2 separate regions of the Homo sapiens genome follow, and region 2 is linked to region 1. The links are contacts of gene promoters, found by promoter capture Hi-C in blood cells and fetal thymus (Javierre and others, 2016). All regions are on one chromosome and are shown on one strand. Each heading gives the region's core, a stretch centred on a gene start or on the middle of the fragment in contact. The rest is flanking DNA. Distances are from core to core; before and after follow the strand shown.

The links. The method cuts DNA at HindIII sites, captures the fragments that hold promoters and counts their contacts. A CHiCAGO score of 5 or more calls a contact.
Region 2: a contact is called between a fragment that was not itself captured here and the fragment with the promoter of BEND5 in region 1, in 1 of 17 cell types (total B cells). The highest score is 6.3, in total B cells.

What each region holds. Positions count from the first base shown.
Region 1 is chr1:48,773,115-48,780,781 of GRCh38, forward strand. BEND5 (BEN domain containing 5) reads right to left here and starts at 3,777. Exons shown (of 6, transcript NM_024603.4): 1 at 3,492-3,777. The coding sequence starts at 3,717. The region is part of intron 6 of AGBL4 (AGBL carboxypeptidase 4); the gene reads right to left. The HindIII fragment of the contact is 5,361 bases long and covers 492-5,852 here.
Region 2 is chr1:48,823,934-48,831,600 of GRCh38, forward strand. All of the region lies in intron 6 of AGBL4 (AGBL carboxypeptidase 4), which reads right to left. Among named protein-coding and RNA genes, the nearest start is that of BEND5, 51 kb to the left of the region's middle. The HindIII fragment of the contact is 4,690 bases long and covers 2,581-7,270 here.

The DNA of each region.
Region 1 (7,667 bases), core at 2,527-5,026:
ACAGAAAGCAGTAAGGAGACATCTGAAACAAAAAAATTCAGCACACTCAAACAACAGTAACAGAGCACAGGTGCCTAGATAGAACAACTTAAAATTTTAGGGCTCTAGGCACAGAGAAACCAGTTTGAGCCTCCTAAAAAAAAAATAAAATTCAACACTATGAGCCCCAGTAGCAGGCTGGATTGCAGTTAGATGATGGTGAGCTCTCCAAATGAGTAGTTCTCACTTTCACAACCTGCTTGGCAAATAAATGAGAGTAAAGAGAGAACAGAGGTCAAAGGTGAGTCAAACTTTGAGTTATGTGGACCCTCCAAGAGGGACAGCCTTAGTGAAGATTTATTCAAGCAAATGCCAACTGAAGAGATAGGCGGGTGGGGGACAGCTGTGTGTGCTCTGTAAGAGGGAGGATGGTAATGGAGAAAGAGCAGAATGGGCTTGAAAACTCAGAAACTAAAATTATACTCTGGCTTGAAAACTTGCCTTGAGCTGTAAGCTTCATGGACAGTTTTTCCATTTCCTTTCACTCCTTCCAAATCATGCTGTGTAGCTGATGGGAACATCGGCTACTTTACAAAGGAGACTGCCAAGTGGGGGCCTGGCACTGGAAGACCTGTGTTCCAATTCCAGCCTTGCCATTTATTAGCTGTGTGGCTGTAGGCAAGTCTCTGAGCTTCGGTGTCCTCATCTATGAAATGGAAATACTAACCACAGCAATACCTACCAAAATGTCACTTAGAGGACTAACAGAGATAATGTGTAGGCATATAGCAAGACTATCAGGAAAGAAGGAGTTTTGTTTTTCCTTGAACTGGGATTGTAATTTGATAAGTAGTGGTATAAACCACCTACTATGGGCAGTAAAATGTAAAGTCCCACAGCAGTCGGCTTTGACATTTCCTGAGTATAAAAAGAAGTATACTTCAAGACAGCTCTGGGCTGGCTTGGGCCAACACTCAGTATAGCAACATACTTCTCACCAAAAGCCAGAAAGCTGTGCTGAAACTACCTTGGAAACCATTCTATTTGTGTCAGAGAGATTAATTAATCAATTAATAGCTAATCCACAAACATAAAGCCACCTCTGCTTCCCACTTGAGGGGATTCCTCCTCACACCTGGTGCCATAGCACAGTGGTATTTACATATAGGAGATGCCAGATGAGCTCTCTGAAGTCACTGTAAGCAATTCTCAGAGCCACCAAGTTTAAGTCAGGAAGGGGTTTGAAGATACATAGGAGTTATTCCAGGGTAATGAATTCCCGAACTCACCCTGGCCCTTCGATCAGGTCTCTATGCAGGGCAGTGGGTACCCAGGAGATCAAAATTCAAAATGTGGTTTGGCCAACTTCAAGTTGTTGTCTTTTTTTCCCCTTTCTCCTCCCAAGAAAAAAACTGAAGAGAGGTAAGGGGAAGTGTTTTTCAACTAATTCAAACTGGCACACTTCTTTGAACCTACTCTGCCAGTTTCCAAATGATGCTTGGGTTTTTTAAATAACCATACAGATTTATCAACATTCTAACTTGGAGGATGAACAGTCTACAGGTTCAAAATTCATGGTTCTCAAACCAACAGCTACATGTATCTTGCTTCTGAGGACTTGTGTCGATTTCAAAATCAGAGCTGGTGGGAGCTGCCATCTGCCTAAGTGGCCTCTCTGCAGTGCCTGAAGAGTCAAGCACAGTGTATATGTATGTTTGCTGAATGAATGAGTAGATGAATGAAACAATCTCCAAGAGAGGAAAACAGCCATTACACACTAAGAAACTTATCACTGACTCTCTTTAACACATCACTTCTACTCTCCTAGGACCCTTCCAGATCTAGGAGTACAATACAATCGTCAAGAAGCATGCATGCATTTTCTTCTAGCAAAAGGGAAGCTAAGGTTACAACCTAGTTATAACTTCCTCAAGCCTATCGTCTTGGGAAATAAATTCCTAATCCTTTCCCTCAGGTAATTAAAGGCAAGTAAGCAAACAAAATAAAACCTAATCAGCTATGAATGGTTCCCTTTTCTAAAATCTGCTTCCCCTCCCTCAGTTTCTTTGGCCCTAGGTGTCTGGCAGTGGGTGGGCCTACACTTCGGTGTGCCAGGGCTTATCAGGGAGGTGGTATGGATAGAGCCTGTCAAAAAGGGTCCAAGTGCTGCTGGTCAGTTTCCAGTTCTTCCACTCTTCAACTTCTGCAAACCGATTTTTCAGAGGCAACATGAGTTGTGAGACTGAGCTAACTTGCCATGAGACCCTGGGCAAGTCTCTATGGGTTGAGAGAATGTTGGGTTCATCTTTTAGGCTAAATGTGAGGAAGCAAAGGAACTTGAAAAAAATAGAGAAGGTCTCAAAATTACAAAACATCTTCATTCAGTCACTAACCCTTCGTGTTCTTTCTGGTAGAAGGCAGGAACACTATTTGCCCACTTTAAGGTTCATTCTCCTTACCAGCAGGAGCTAAAAAGGCTGCTCCCCAAAACGGAGATGATACTTCCCCCTTCCTTGCTTGTCTAGACTCAAACTTTCTGGAACTAGCTGGGAAAGAGGGCCAGCTGTCTTCTCTTTACAAAGGAAAAGGTGTCTCAGCATGGCAGGAAGAACTGGAGCATAGGAGGATAAAGGGCTGGTTTCTTTCCCTATCACCAACTGAACCTCAGTACCCTCATCTACGAAATGGAGATGAGACTAGCTGCCTTAGCCCATCTCTCAGGGCCCTGGCAGGGCAGGGATGAGAGGTCCAGTGTTATTCTGACCCAGAAACTCTCTCCTGGCCCTCAACTCTCTCATTCAGGGAGCCTTCTGGGAGATTCAGAAAGGGGTGTGGAGGCTGAGGGATGCCTTAGGGCCTCTACCTCCTTACCTCTGCCACCTGGCCAGGGAGGGGCAGGAGAGTGTGGTGTGGAGCCCAGTGCACTGAGGTTCATGGCCTCCTCATCCTGTCCAATGTTGGCCCGGATGGGACAAGGATGTCATAGCTTCCCTCTGTGAGGAGGGACTCCCACCTAGAAGATCTGACAATATCCTTCTTGCTCCTCACTCCAAGGAGGTACCAACAGCCTTTAAAGGGAGAGAGACAGACAGCTTGAGAAACTTAATTCTTGACAGAAAAGAACAGAGGGAAGGAACTGGGAGAGAGGTAAAGAGAAGGTGAGAGAGAAATGACGGTACAAACAGGTAGGGAGAAAAATGGAAAGTGAAGGAACGAAGAAAACACAAAGAATCAGAAAGAGGAGGACAGACACAGATGAAGAGATGAAGACGGACTGACAGCGCGGGAGCTTCGGGGAAGCGGGGAAGACAAAGGGGACCATCCGGTCTTTTTAACTGGCCTGGCCTCTTAGAGACACCCCGTTCCCAAATGAAATGCCCAGAGGACGGGAGAAGGAGGCAGGAAGGAGCAAGCAGTGGCTCCCCCCGGTCCCCTCCGCCCGGGCCCCCGGCCCCTCCCGGGGTCCCAGCCCCCGCCCGGGTCCCACCGTCCCTCCCCGCCCGCTTGCTCACCTGCCAGCGCCAGGATCTGGGCCTTGTGGAGCAACAGCGCGCCCCAGTCGCGGGGGGCGCGCGGGGGGCTCTCGGGCCCGGCGCCCAATTCCTCCGGGCCCCGGTACACGGCGTACACCTTCTGGTTGTCAAAATCCAGCCGCGAGCGGGGGCTGAAGTCGCGCACGCACGACACGGGCAGCGCGTAGCAGACGTTGTCCTCCAGGAACCGCACAAAGGCGTACATGGTGGGCGCCGGGGGCGGGCCCCGGTCGGGCAGCTCAGCCCGCGGGGCGGGCGCGGAGGTGGGGATCCGGCGGGGGGCGCGAGTCTCGCTACGGTGCTGGGGGGGGCGGGGGCGGCTCCCCAGGACCCAGGCTCCCCCCACTGTTATTGTTCCTGAAAGCACCGTTCTGCCAATCGGCTGCTTTCGCCTGGGCGCGGAAAAGGGAGGGAGGGGGGGAAAGGGGGACGAGGGGCGGATGAGGGGGGTTTGGAAGCGCACTGCCACTTGCAAAGTCAGACCCGAGCAATCACAGCCGGAGCGCGATTCGAATGGGGAGGGAAAAGGGTTCAGAGATTCAGTTGCAATAAAAATAATAACAAGAGCATTGCAGGAAAAAAATGCATTGATTAAAAGGTGCGCTGCGTGCAGGATTATATTGCTTCAACAATCGCGCTGCCAAATTGCATTGCAACAAAACTGCATTGCCAAGTAGAGAAGTGTATGAGTGAGTGAATGCGGGATAGGGGTGGGGGCAATCTTGATTGAATCTCAAAGTGTAAACTTGGAAGCCAGCAGAAGTTTGGAGTGTTTTAAATGTAGCCACCCTACCCGCGCCCCCAGCCCCGCACCCTCCCCGCGCCTTTCCCAGCCCTTAGTTTGGCCCCGCCTTTTCTTTGCTTTCTTTCTTTTTGTTTGTTTGTTTGTTTGTTTTGTTCTGCAAAACTGCCAGCTCCCTCTGTGGAAAGGGTCAGTCAGACAGAAAATTTCCCCTAGAGCTGCCAAACCAGTTCTGACCAGAACTGGGGCTTATCTGAGATTTCCAGTTGTGCCAGCTGGCTGGGGAGGTGGAAGGTTTGTCAAGGGCTGCTCTCATCTGAGGGAGCAGTGGCGCCCCTCTCCTCTATAGTCTTTCTCCATTGAGATACCCTCTCCACAGCACGCCCACCACTGAGCAGGGACAACTTGGAATCGCGGAGGGAGTTGAGGAGCGCTCTGGGTAACACAGGCCCAAGGCTAGGGATTTCTGGAGCACTTTGAAGAGTACAGGAATAGTACTCCATGGAATAGCGGTCTTTGCTCTGTCTCTTGCCAAAGAGAGCCTGGAGGGGCTTGGGTCCCCTCCAAGACAAGCCGTGAGGACCAGCCAAAGGGGGCTGATTGGGCTCTGTACTCATAGGAACCCTATCCCACATCAGAGGAGGTCAGTACCTTCACAGGGATGCCTCGTATCAAATATGGCTAGTTATATTTCTGTTGCCTAGCCAGACCTGGCACTTGACAGGGAGTTAATGAATTTTGGGTAAAGAAGAATAAATAAAAACCCACATCCATCCATCCATCCATCCATCCATCCATCCATCCATCCATCCAACCATCCATCCATCTGTTCATTCATTCCTTTATTCAAGCAACCAATATTCACTGAGTTTACACCACCTGCCAGATTCTGGGCCAGGTGCTGGTGATAGAAATGAAAAGATAAACACCTGGATTCTTGGGCCTTGCAAAGTCAGTGTACCAGAACTTGAATCTCAGTTTTGGGTTCCTGTGCCAAAATTAGGTAACTGTATGAATAACATACCTTTCCCATCCTCACAACCTTTACAATCTAGTCTAGGAGTATTAAAGAAGTATAAGCAAGTAATGACAGTATAATGAGAAAAGTATTGTCATAGAGGAATGCTTAATGGAGGTGTTGGACTCAATTAAATGTTATATTTTTAAAAATTCATCTTAATAAACTTTAGCTGTAAGAAAAAAACAGAATAAGTGCACCAAAATGTTAATAGTGATTTTTTTAGCTTCTTAGTAGTGGTAGATGATTTTGTTTTTCCTTGTATTCATTGTGTGTGTGTGTGTGTATGTAACTATTTTCCACAATGTTTTATTACTTTATCATCAGAAAACATCAAACATTATAAAATCAAAGCACTGTGCTCATATTTCACATCAGCTGCACTGACAATGAGGCAGATATTTATTTCACTGTGAAATAGACAGTGCGTTATATAAGTGAATCCCATCAACATATAGCTCTCATATCCAAATGTGTAGGTCAGTACAAATTTTTTTAAACCAACCCACTGGTTATGTGGTACAGCCAAAAATGACCACCACTTGTCCTGATGCAGCTGTTGGTCTTATCTTGCCCCACAAGCTTGTGGAAAAAAAAGGAGCCACTCTGAGTTGTTCCAGCACATTTACTGTCATGATTATGATTTCTTTGGACTGATCCTCAGTGAGTTTTTATTTTAAGAATACATTCCTATGGTGGTCAAGGGGAAGTAATGTGCAGCAAGACTTCTGATAATTCACAAGATGGATCATGCAGAGTTGGCCGTATTTAACAAAAGTCCTTGAAGCTCCGGACTATGTTCCCAAAATGATTTCAAGTAGCCAATGGCCAACCTCCTCTCTGCATCTAAATGGGGGTGACCACAAAACATTACCAATCTCATCTCTTACTACCTTCCCAGACACAGTACACTCCAGACACCTAAACTATTTGACATTTCCAAAGATAGCATGTTTTAGCAGGTCCCAAGCTTTTGTGCTTTTTCTGCCTTCATCCTGGGAAGTTCTTCCTTCCTCAACTTACCCTGAAAATCAGCTCAAATGTCATTGCCTTTGTGAAGCCTTTCCCAACCACCCACACTTTTCAAGGATAGCCTATCTCTTTCTACTACAATATTTTGTCCCAGCACTTTTTATCTTCCCTCACTAGAATAAGAGCTCTTTGAGGGGAGGCAAAGGCTGAGTAACTTTAGCATCCCAGGTACCTAGCACAGGGCTGGGGAGTAAATGTTTATAAAACAAATGTATTAAAGAAGGACATAAAGAGAGCATGAATAACAAACCTCTTGCACATTTTTTCTTGAAAGTCTGTTCCTCTCTTTTTTTTTTTTTTTTTTTTTTTCTTGAGACGGAGTTTCGCTCTTGTTGCCCAGGCTGGAGTGCAATGGCCTGGTCTCGGCTCACTGCCACTTCCACCTCCCAGGTTCAAGCGATTCTCCTGCCTCAGCCTCCCAAGTAGCTGGGATTACAGGTGCTCGCCACCACGCCTGGCTAATTTTTGTATTTTTAGTAGAGACGAGTTTTCACCATGTTGGTCAGGCTGGTCTCAAATTCCTGACCTCAGGCAATCCACCCTCCTCGGCCTCCCAATGTGCTGGGATTACAGATGTGAGCCACCGCGCCCGGCCTTTATTATTATTAATATTATTATTATTATTACACTTTAAGCTCTGGTATACATGTGCAAAACATGCAGGTTTGTTACATAGGTATACACATGCCATGATGGTTTGCTGCACTCATCAACTCATCAACTACATTAGGTATTTCTCCTAATGCTATCCCTCCCCTAGTCCCCCAGCCCCCCACCCCCCTACAGGCCCCGGTATGTGATGTTCCCCTCCCCGTATCTATGTGTTCTCATTGTTCACCTCCCACTTATGAGAGAGAATAGGACACAAACAAATGAAAAAACATTCCATGCTCATGGATAGGAAGAATCAATATTGTGAAAATGGTCATATTGCCCAAAGTAATTTATAGATTCAATGCTATCCCCATCAAGCTACCATTAACTTTCTTCACGGAATTAGAAAAAACTACTTTAAATTTCATATGGAACCAAAAAAGAGCCCATGTAGCCAACACAATCCTAAGCAAAAAGAACAAAACTGAGGCATCATGCTACCTGACTTCAAACCATACTAGAAGGCTACAGTAGCCAAAACAGCATAGTACTGGTACCAAAACAGGTATATAGACCAATGGAACAGAACAGAGGCCTCAGAAATAATGCCACACATCTACAACCATCTGATGTTTGACAAACCTGACAAAAACAAGCATTGGGGAAAGGATTCCCTGTTTAATAAATAGTGTTAGGAAAACTAGCTAGCCATATGCACAAAACTAAAACTGGACCCCCTCCTTACACCTTATACAAAAATTAACTCAAG
Region 2 (7,667 bases), core at 3,676-6,175, 52 kb after region 1:
CAGGAATACATAAGAGAAAAGGATGGTGGGACAAAAGGTGTGTGTGTGTGTGTGTATATGTGCACATGTCATTAGGATAGTTTCCTTCTCCCAAGATGTGTCAATAAGACTGTGAGCCCTCCAAGAGCCATGTGTTTCTTTGAGCCTTTCTCTCTTCCTCCCTCCCTTCTTTCTTCCTTCTTTTCCTCTGTTTTCACTGAACACCTAATATATGCCACTGGGAATGTAAAGAAAGGAAAGTCAAACCTATTTTTCTGCTTTTAAGTGGCTCACAATGGGGGAGTCATATATAAGATGACAGTCACAAACCAGCACACCAAGAGCTAGGACCTAAAATACATGGGGGTCATGTGAGCATGGATGAAGAACATTCACCATAACCCACATGATCAGAGCAGACTTTTCTTATGAAGACTTAACCTCTAATAAATGGGAGTCAGTTAACTGAAGGCACAGGAATAGATAGGTTAGGAAGAGCAGTAAGAAAGAATGGAGGACATCAGAAAGTTCAGAGTGCAGAGTGTTAGGGTGAGGGGTGGTAGAGGAGATAGTGGTTGGGTAAATGTTAAAATGTAAGACTGGAGAGGCAGACAGAGGTCAGTCACACAAGGCTTTATTAGCTCTAGTGAGGTATTGGTGTTTAGATGCAGGTCAGTGGGAGTTGGGGGAGGAATCTACTTGCTGGAGTAGCATGCCTAGATTTGCTCTCCAAAGGAACAAACAAGATCCCAGTGGAAGAAGAACAACTAGGGGTAAAAAGGCTCTAAACCTGACATCCTTGGGATAAAAGCTAATGGCTGGGGAGCTTGGCCTGGAGAAGAGATGACTTGGAGGTAGGCCAGGTTACTGCCTTCAAAGCTGAGGGGCTACGGGGGCAAGCGAGGAAGCAGATGTGCTCTGCGTGCTCCAGAGAGCAGTGCTAGAACAAGTGGGTGTGACTGGCTGACCTGGAATCTCAGCTCTGCAACTACCTGTGTAAAACTGGCAAATCTCTTAACCTTACTGAGCCTCAGTTTCTCCATTTATGCAATTAGAACTGTAATACTGACCTCAGCACATTGCTGTAAGGATTTAATGTGAAGATGTACATCAAGTGCCTAGCACATGTTTGGCACATGGGAGATGCTCATGTTAGGCTCTTTATGACTCTAAAATGAATACTGAGATGGGTGAGAAACATACCGGCAGGGGTAGCTTGGAGGGAGGAGGGAAACAAGAATAATTTCAGCTTCGAACACAAACACAATTCTCTTCGCTTCCTATTTTGGGAATTGCTGCGGAGGCCAGGAGGGAGGGAAAGATTCCGATTTTAGCGCAACCCGCCTTCTCACTGGGTCTGTGACTTCCAATACTCCAACCAGCCTCTGGAGTCAGTTTTATAGAAGATTCTGTCCCTGAACTGTCCTGATGGTATCAGAGGTCTTAAGGGTCAATTTAAATATCCCACCTCAGAAAAGCCCTCCTTGATATCCCAGCATAACTAGGACTTTGTGGCACAATATCTTATTGCACCATTTATTTTTTCTTTGCCCTGATTAGAGTTTGTCTGTATATATTTGTGTGATTGTTTAATACTTTCCACCTTCCCCCATGTAAGCAGAGACTATTGATATTTTATGATGTTTTCTATTGTATTCCCAGTGCCCAGAGGAGTGCTTGGCGTATAATAGGTATTTTATTCGCTCATTGACTAAGTGAATAAGTGCATAAATAAAGGAACAAGTAGGAACCAAGGGGAAAGGGCATTTTCCTCAGAAGAAAGAGCATGAGCAAAGGCAAAGAAGTGGTAAAATGCATCATATATGCAAGTACCAAGTGAAAAACTCAGAGCATCTAAGAGATAAAAATGGAAATATCTCTTGGAGGTAGTCTGTATGTGTCTCTCAGTGCCCTGTTAATGACATTGCACTGTCTTCTATGGGCAATGGGGAGACAAGGAAGGTGCTTAAGCAGGGAAGTCCTGTGCTGGAAGATTTAGGGGGGAAGAAATGAAAGGAAGGACTTCTCCACTGCTTTCAGACTCCGTGGCTTTGCCCTCTGCTTGTCTAGGACCTTCATTTTGGATCTCAGAGCCCTTCTACCTTCACCCACAATTCAAAGTGACAGGGACTTTCTCTTATAAACGATCCCTTTATTGCATTTAAGCCCCAAGCTTCAAGGAACAACTTCTTCCCTAAAATCTCAGGTAATGAGGATCTCCCTCCTGTCACTCCTTTGATAACCCTTCCCTCTACAGTCAATCTTTAGCTTGCTTCAGAAGATGAGAGTCCCAAGCCAGCCTCAGCTACTATCACATGCTTCAGTCTCACATTCTGTAAAATGGGGCTGATGATAATTGCATTATACCAATTGATAATTGGTAGGATAATTAAACAAAATAAAAGGTGTGAAGGAGTTTGCTGAATTGGCTGGCACTGTTAAAGCCATGTACCATCACCATGAACTACTGAAACTGGCATTCTGGGCCAGAGAACTGGCACACATTAGCAAAACATGTATGTGAGCTACAATCCCAGTCCACCACCTGGTTCCTTTGCACCCCACACCCAACCAAAAGCAGGTTTGTGGTGGGAGATAATAAGCTTCATTCAAAGAGACTCCAGAGCCTAGGAATCAGATGAACTTCAGGTTAAGAAAATTTGGAAATGGCCTCATGGCCCAAGAAAGAAGATATAAAGCAAGAGGAGGCTGGAAAGTTAGAGGTTACAAACACCTCCAGATAGTGGATTGAATAAAGGTCTAGGCAGGAGAAGAATAAGTTTTATCTTGTTCCCCTTAATTGTTTCCATGATTTTGATTCCATGCCAGCATATTGCCTATTTGAGCCCAACCTTCTGAACCCTAAAAGACTTAACAAACGCTGAGTCTTTCTGGTTAACAGGAAACCTTCAAGGATCTGGCTCCAATGTCCTTCCCACCCTCATCTTCCATTGCATCACTTCACACTCTCCTCTTATCCCCATGCCCCGGAGTCTGCTACATGGGACTATTCACCAGTCCTCAAATAGGCTCTGCACTCTTTCACCACTATGCTTTTCCCACTGCCTGAATATTCTTTCCCCCTCTATCAAGATCAAGATAAGTCAAGATCTCAAACAAGTCAAGATCTTGTTTGTCCTTCAAGATTCTGGACAAATGCTATGTTTTCTTTGAAATTACCCCTGATTTCTTAAATCAGAATTACCATTTTTGTATTGCCTCAGTATGCTATTACTGTACTATACTTTCATTTGGTAGAAAGTCTGCAGTATTTGAATTTTAGTTGGTTGCTTCCATGTCTTTCCTCCATTATACTGTCTCTGCATCTTTACTGACTAGAGCAGGTCTCGATATAGCCAAGGTGCTTAGTAAATTCATGCTGAAGCAAATGAAAGAGGAGTAATAGGGAAAGTAATTCTTATCTCTCACAAAATGGCATGGCAAGCACTTTGTAAATATTAACTCTTATAATCCTGGCCTCTCCCTAGCTTCCCAGGTCATGGGTCTTTACATACAGCCAACATCTGCTTATGCTACAGAAAAGCCCCAGAAGCCTACTGGGGTGAAAGCTCTGGTCTTGTGTCTTCACACTGTTGGCCACCATCCACACTGCTATCGTTTTCTTGGCTCTCAGATTGTCTGGCTCCATGTCCTTGCTCTGGATAACTGCCCCATGCAGTTATCAACTTCAACTCAAGGCAAACATAATTTCTTGAGTAACTACTGTGTGCAGACATGTAGTTCTGCATGCTTCCTTGTTTAGGAAGCCCTTTTAAGCGGGTTGCAAGCAAGAAACAGTCTTAGCTGTACAGAATCATGACAGCTGGGAAATTTTCCACAGGCTGGGGGATGAGACAAACCTCATGTGGTGGATATTCCCTTTTACAAATGGAGTCACAAAAGTGAAAACAGGCTGGGGACTAGCAGGGAGCTGCATTGCTAGTAAGTATTGAAAATGGGGGCCAGGAGCGGCGGCTCATGCCTGTAATCCCAGCACTTTGGGAGGCCGAGGCGGGCAGATCACGAGGTCAGGAGTTTGAGACCAGCCTGCCCAGCATGTGAGACCCCGTCTCTACTAAAAATACACACACACACACACACACACACACACACACACACACACACACACACAAATTAGCCGGGCATGGTGGTATGCACCTGTAGTCCCAGCTACTTGGGAGGCTGAGGCAGAAGAATTGCTTGAACCCAGCAGGTGGAGGTTGCAGTGAGCCAAGATTGCGCCACTGTACTCCAGCCTGGGCAACTCCATCTCAAAAAAAAAAAAAAAGAAAAAAAGAAAATGGGGTTCAAATCTCTCCCACCTCATGCCAAAACATCAGACAGTAGAAGAGAGAAGACGGATTACTCCCCTCCTACCACCATAGAGGTGTCTCTGGCAGCAGCTGAGTCTCCTCCATTGCTCTAGCACTTGCTGGATAGAGCCATGGAGGTTGCCAAGGCTCTATCTTTTGCTAGGTAACCATGGCTCCTAGGATCCAGTGCCACCTGTTCTCCCTTTGACCCTTATGCCCAGGGTGAGAGTATCTTCCTATTGTTGCTAATCTCTGAGTTTCTTTACCATTTCCTGTTTGGCTTCTCAACTGGTGCCAGTTCCCTGCATTGAATCCTCTTTGTTTCAAATATTTGGAGTGATTTTTTTTCTTGGTTATGTACTGACTGATACATTCAGATTTAGATGAAACTAAAAAATATCATGGAAATAATACATGATAACAACTCAGTCAAAACTATTAACTGTGCAACAGTAATGCTTGTTCACAACAGGTTGTGTTAAGGATAATTCTAGGCTGCCAGTTCTGCCAGTTAAAATCCATTACTTAGCTCTAGTTATAACTCAACTCCCTTTTTTTCCTCTCATATTTGAATTGTAAGAAAATGAAGAGTGACATTATCATTATCATAGAAGTAACTTTAAATCTGCTTTACCTCATATAAAAAAGTAGATCATTTGCAAACCTTGGTATTTTCACTATTCTTAGCATTGTGTACGTGTGTGTGTGTATGTGTGTAAGATATCTCACAACCATTGCTCTTTGCTATGATGCCTTCCAAAATAAAGGGTTGTTGAGATAGAATAGATCTTTAGTTTTGGCCATTCTGAGTCTGGAACTAGAGTGTCCAAGGTCTAAGATGAACCCAGTGACAGCTTACACTTCTCTTTTTGGGAGCTTGTTCCTGCCACTCATCATCAGAAACAGTCATGAGCACTTGCCATATGCCAGGCATTGTGGTCTTAGTGTGGACATAAGAGCTTGGTGGACCATCATAAACCATCAGAGCTACTTTATCAGGAAACTGAGTCACAGAGAAATTAAAGAACTATACCAGGATCGCATAGATAGTAAAAGGACAGTGTTGAGATGTGATCCTAGTCAGTCTGGCTCCAGAGTTACAGCCTATGCCGTTGGCCACAATGCTTTAATGCCTCTCTATAGAGCAGTCTTGTCTGCCTGGTGGCCCACTAGGACCCTCATTCAGTGTACCATGACCTCTGTTTCTCCCCTTTCAGTCTCCTTTCCAAAGGCATCATATATCCCCCCATTACTGAGATAGGAATGTGCACATTTTATAATCATGCCATTGGAAAAGTATAAGTTCTGCCCTATGGGGTGAAGGAGGGGATCAAAAAGGTTCTGTCTCATATTATTCCTCCTCACCCTTGAATATAACCAGTCAGAGAGAGGCTGAAACATCTCTCAGGGGAAGAGACTGAAGAACAGAAAATAGGGTAGTTGGAAGAATTTGTTTTTCCAGGAGTTAAACCACTTTGGAATGGAAAGCAGGAAAAAAAAAACCCACAAAAATGATTTTCTGCTTTTTTTTAAACTTAAAATTATGGAAATTGTTTCTGACAGCAAATTGCTCCTAATTAATTTCTTGGCTCTGCTGGGAAAATGTACTGTTCTGTTGATTTCTAAATTCCACCAGCTTAATTATCAAAATACATTTTTTTTCATAAAACTATTAACATGTGGGGTTGCAGTTAGGGGGCTGTCAGCATAGTGCAAAGGAAAAAGAGAGAGTAGGGGAGCAAGGGTTGGATGAGCACCAGGAGGCCTAGAGACTCAACTCAAGGCTTGGTACCCATGTTCCAAAGTCTGGGAGAAGGTAGCAGCCACAGGAAAAGAGGTCTTAATGATGCAGGCAGAATCACAATGCAGGGAGTGCCTGGGAATGAAGTTGGGAGATCTGGATTCAAATTCCATCTATACTACTTACCTTAGACAAACAGTTGAATTTTTGCTGCGCCTCAGTCGTTTCTATAAAATGAGGCTAGAAATAATGTTAATTAACATTTGTAGAACTCTTGCTATATGCCAGGCAGTATCCCAAGTGTTTCTATGTGCATTCACATGCCATTCTTCTCCACAGCCCTGTGAAATAGGCATTGCAACTCTACTTTACAGATGAGAAAACACAAGTTCAGAGGGGTCATACAAATTGCCTGAGGTTATACATGTTAAGAACCAAGTAGCCAGGATCACTGGTAAGAGAAAATGAGTTTCTAGCTTAGTGCCAAACTATTGCCTAACCTGTCTGTCTTCCTCATTAGACTGAGAGCCTCTTGAGGTCAGGGGACCAATTCCCCCGATTTTGTATCCACAATGTAGGTAATGTCTGATAAGTTAATAAATGAATGAACAAATGGTTTAGATGCTCAATTAGATACTGGCAGAATTCAAATCTGGAATCAGTTAATTTGGTGCCATTCAAGAAAAACATTCAATTTCAGTCACTTGGTAGATGTTAATCAAATATCTGCTGTATGCCAGTCACTGAGCTAATCAATAAATAACTTTGGGCACCTAGCAATTTTGCTTTTGGGAATAGATCATAAGAAAATATTTGGATAATTGTATAAAAATGGAAGAATAAAGCTGTTCATCACAACATTATTTCATTTTTTTTAAACGTAAAAGTTCATTCATCTAACAAATATTGCTGAGGGCCTGCTACATACCAAGCATTGTTCTAGACATTCCCATTGAACAAGACAAACAAGGTCCCTGTCCCCATCAACTCACAATCTTGTGGGGAAGATAGAGAAAACCCAAATGGTTATATAATGTCAGGTAGCAATGAGACCTGTGAAGTAAAAGGGAGCATTTTCGGGTAAGGAAATGAACTGTGAAAGGAATTAATTTTTGGATTGGGGCTCAGTAAAAGTCTCTCTGAGGAGAGGCCATTTGAGTCATTCTTAATGACATGAGGGAGTGAACCATATGAACATCTGGGAAGATTAGTGTAGAGGGCAGAAGTATAGTCTATAAGCTTGTTTTCTTTGTGACCTTGGGCAAGTCACCTCAGCTCTCTGGCCCTCTGGGCTGGAAGAACTAAGTCCCTCTCCTCCATCCTTCCAGCTATGATCCAGGCGCTCCTCCCTCCTACTGGGGCCCAGAACAAGGTTCCATATCTGAGAGAGCCTCTTGTTACCAAAATATTTTGCAAAATCCCAAGTGCTACAGAGATGTAAGTCAGATGCAAGTTAATCCTACCTCTCTGCTGAAGCCAAGTTCGACTATTACTTCCTTTCTGAAGCCTTGCCTTACTTTGTCGGGAAGGATGTCTCTGGGCTCCCTTTATACTTTTTATGCACCTCTGCTGTAACATTTAGTTTTTTGCAGCATATGATTTTTTAACTTCTTGAAGCAAGGACAATGTATCCT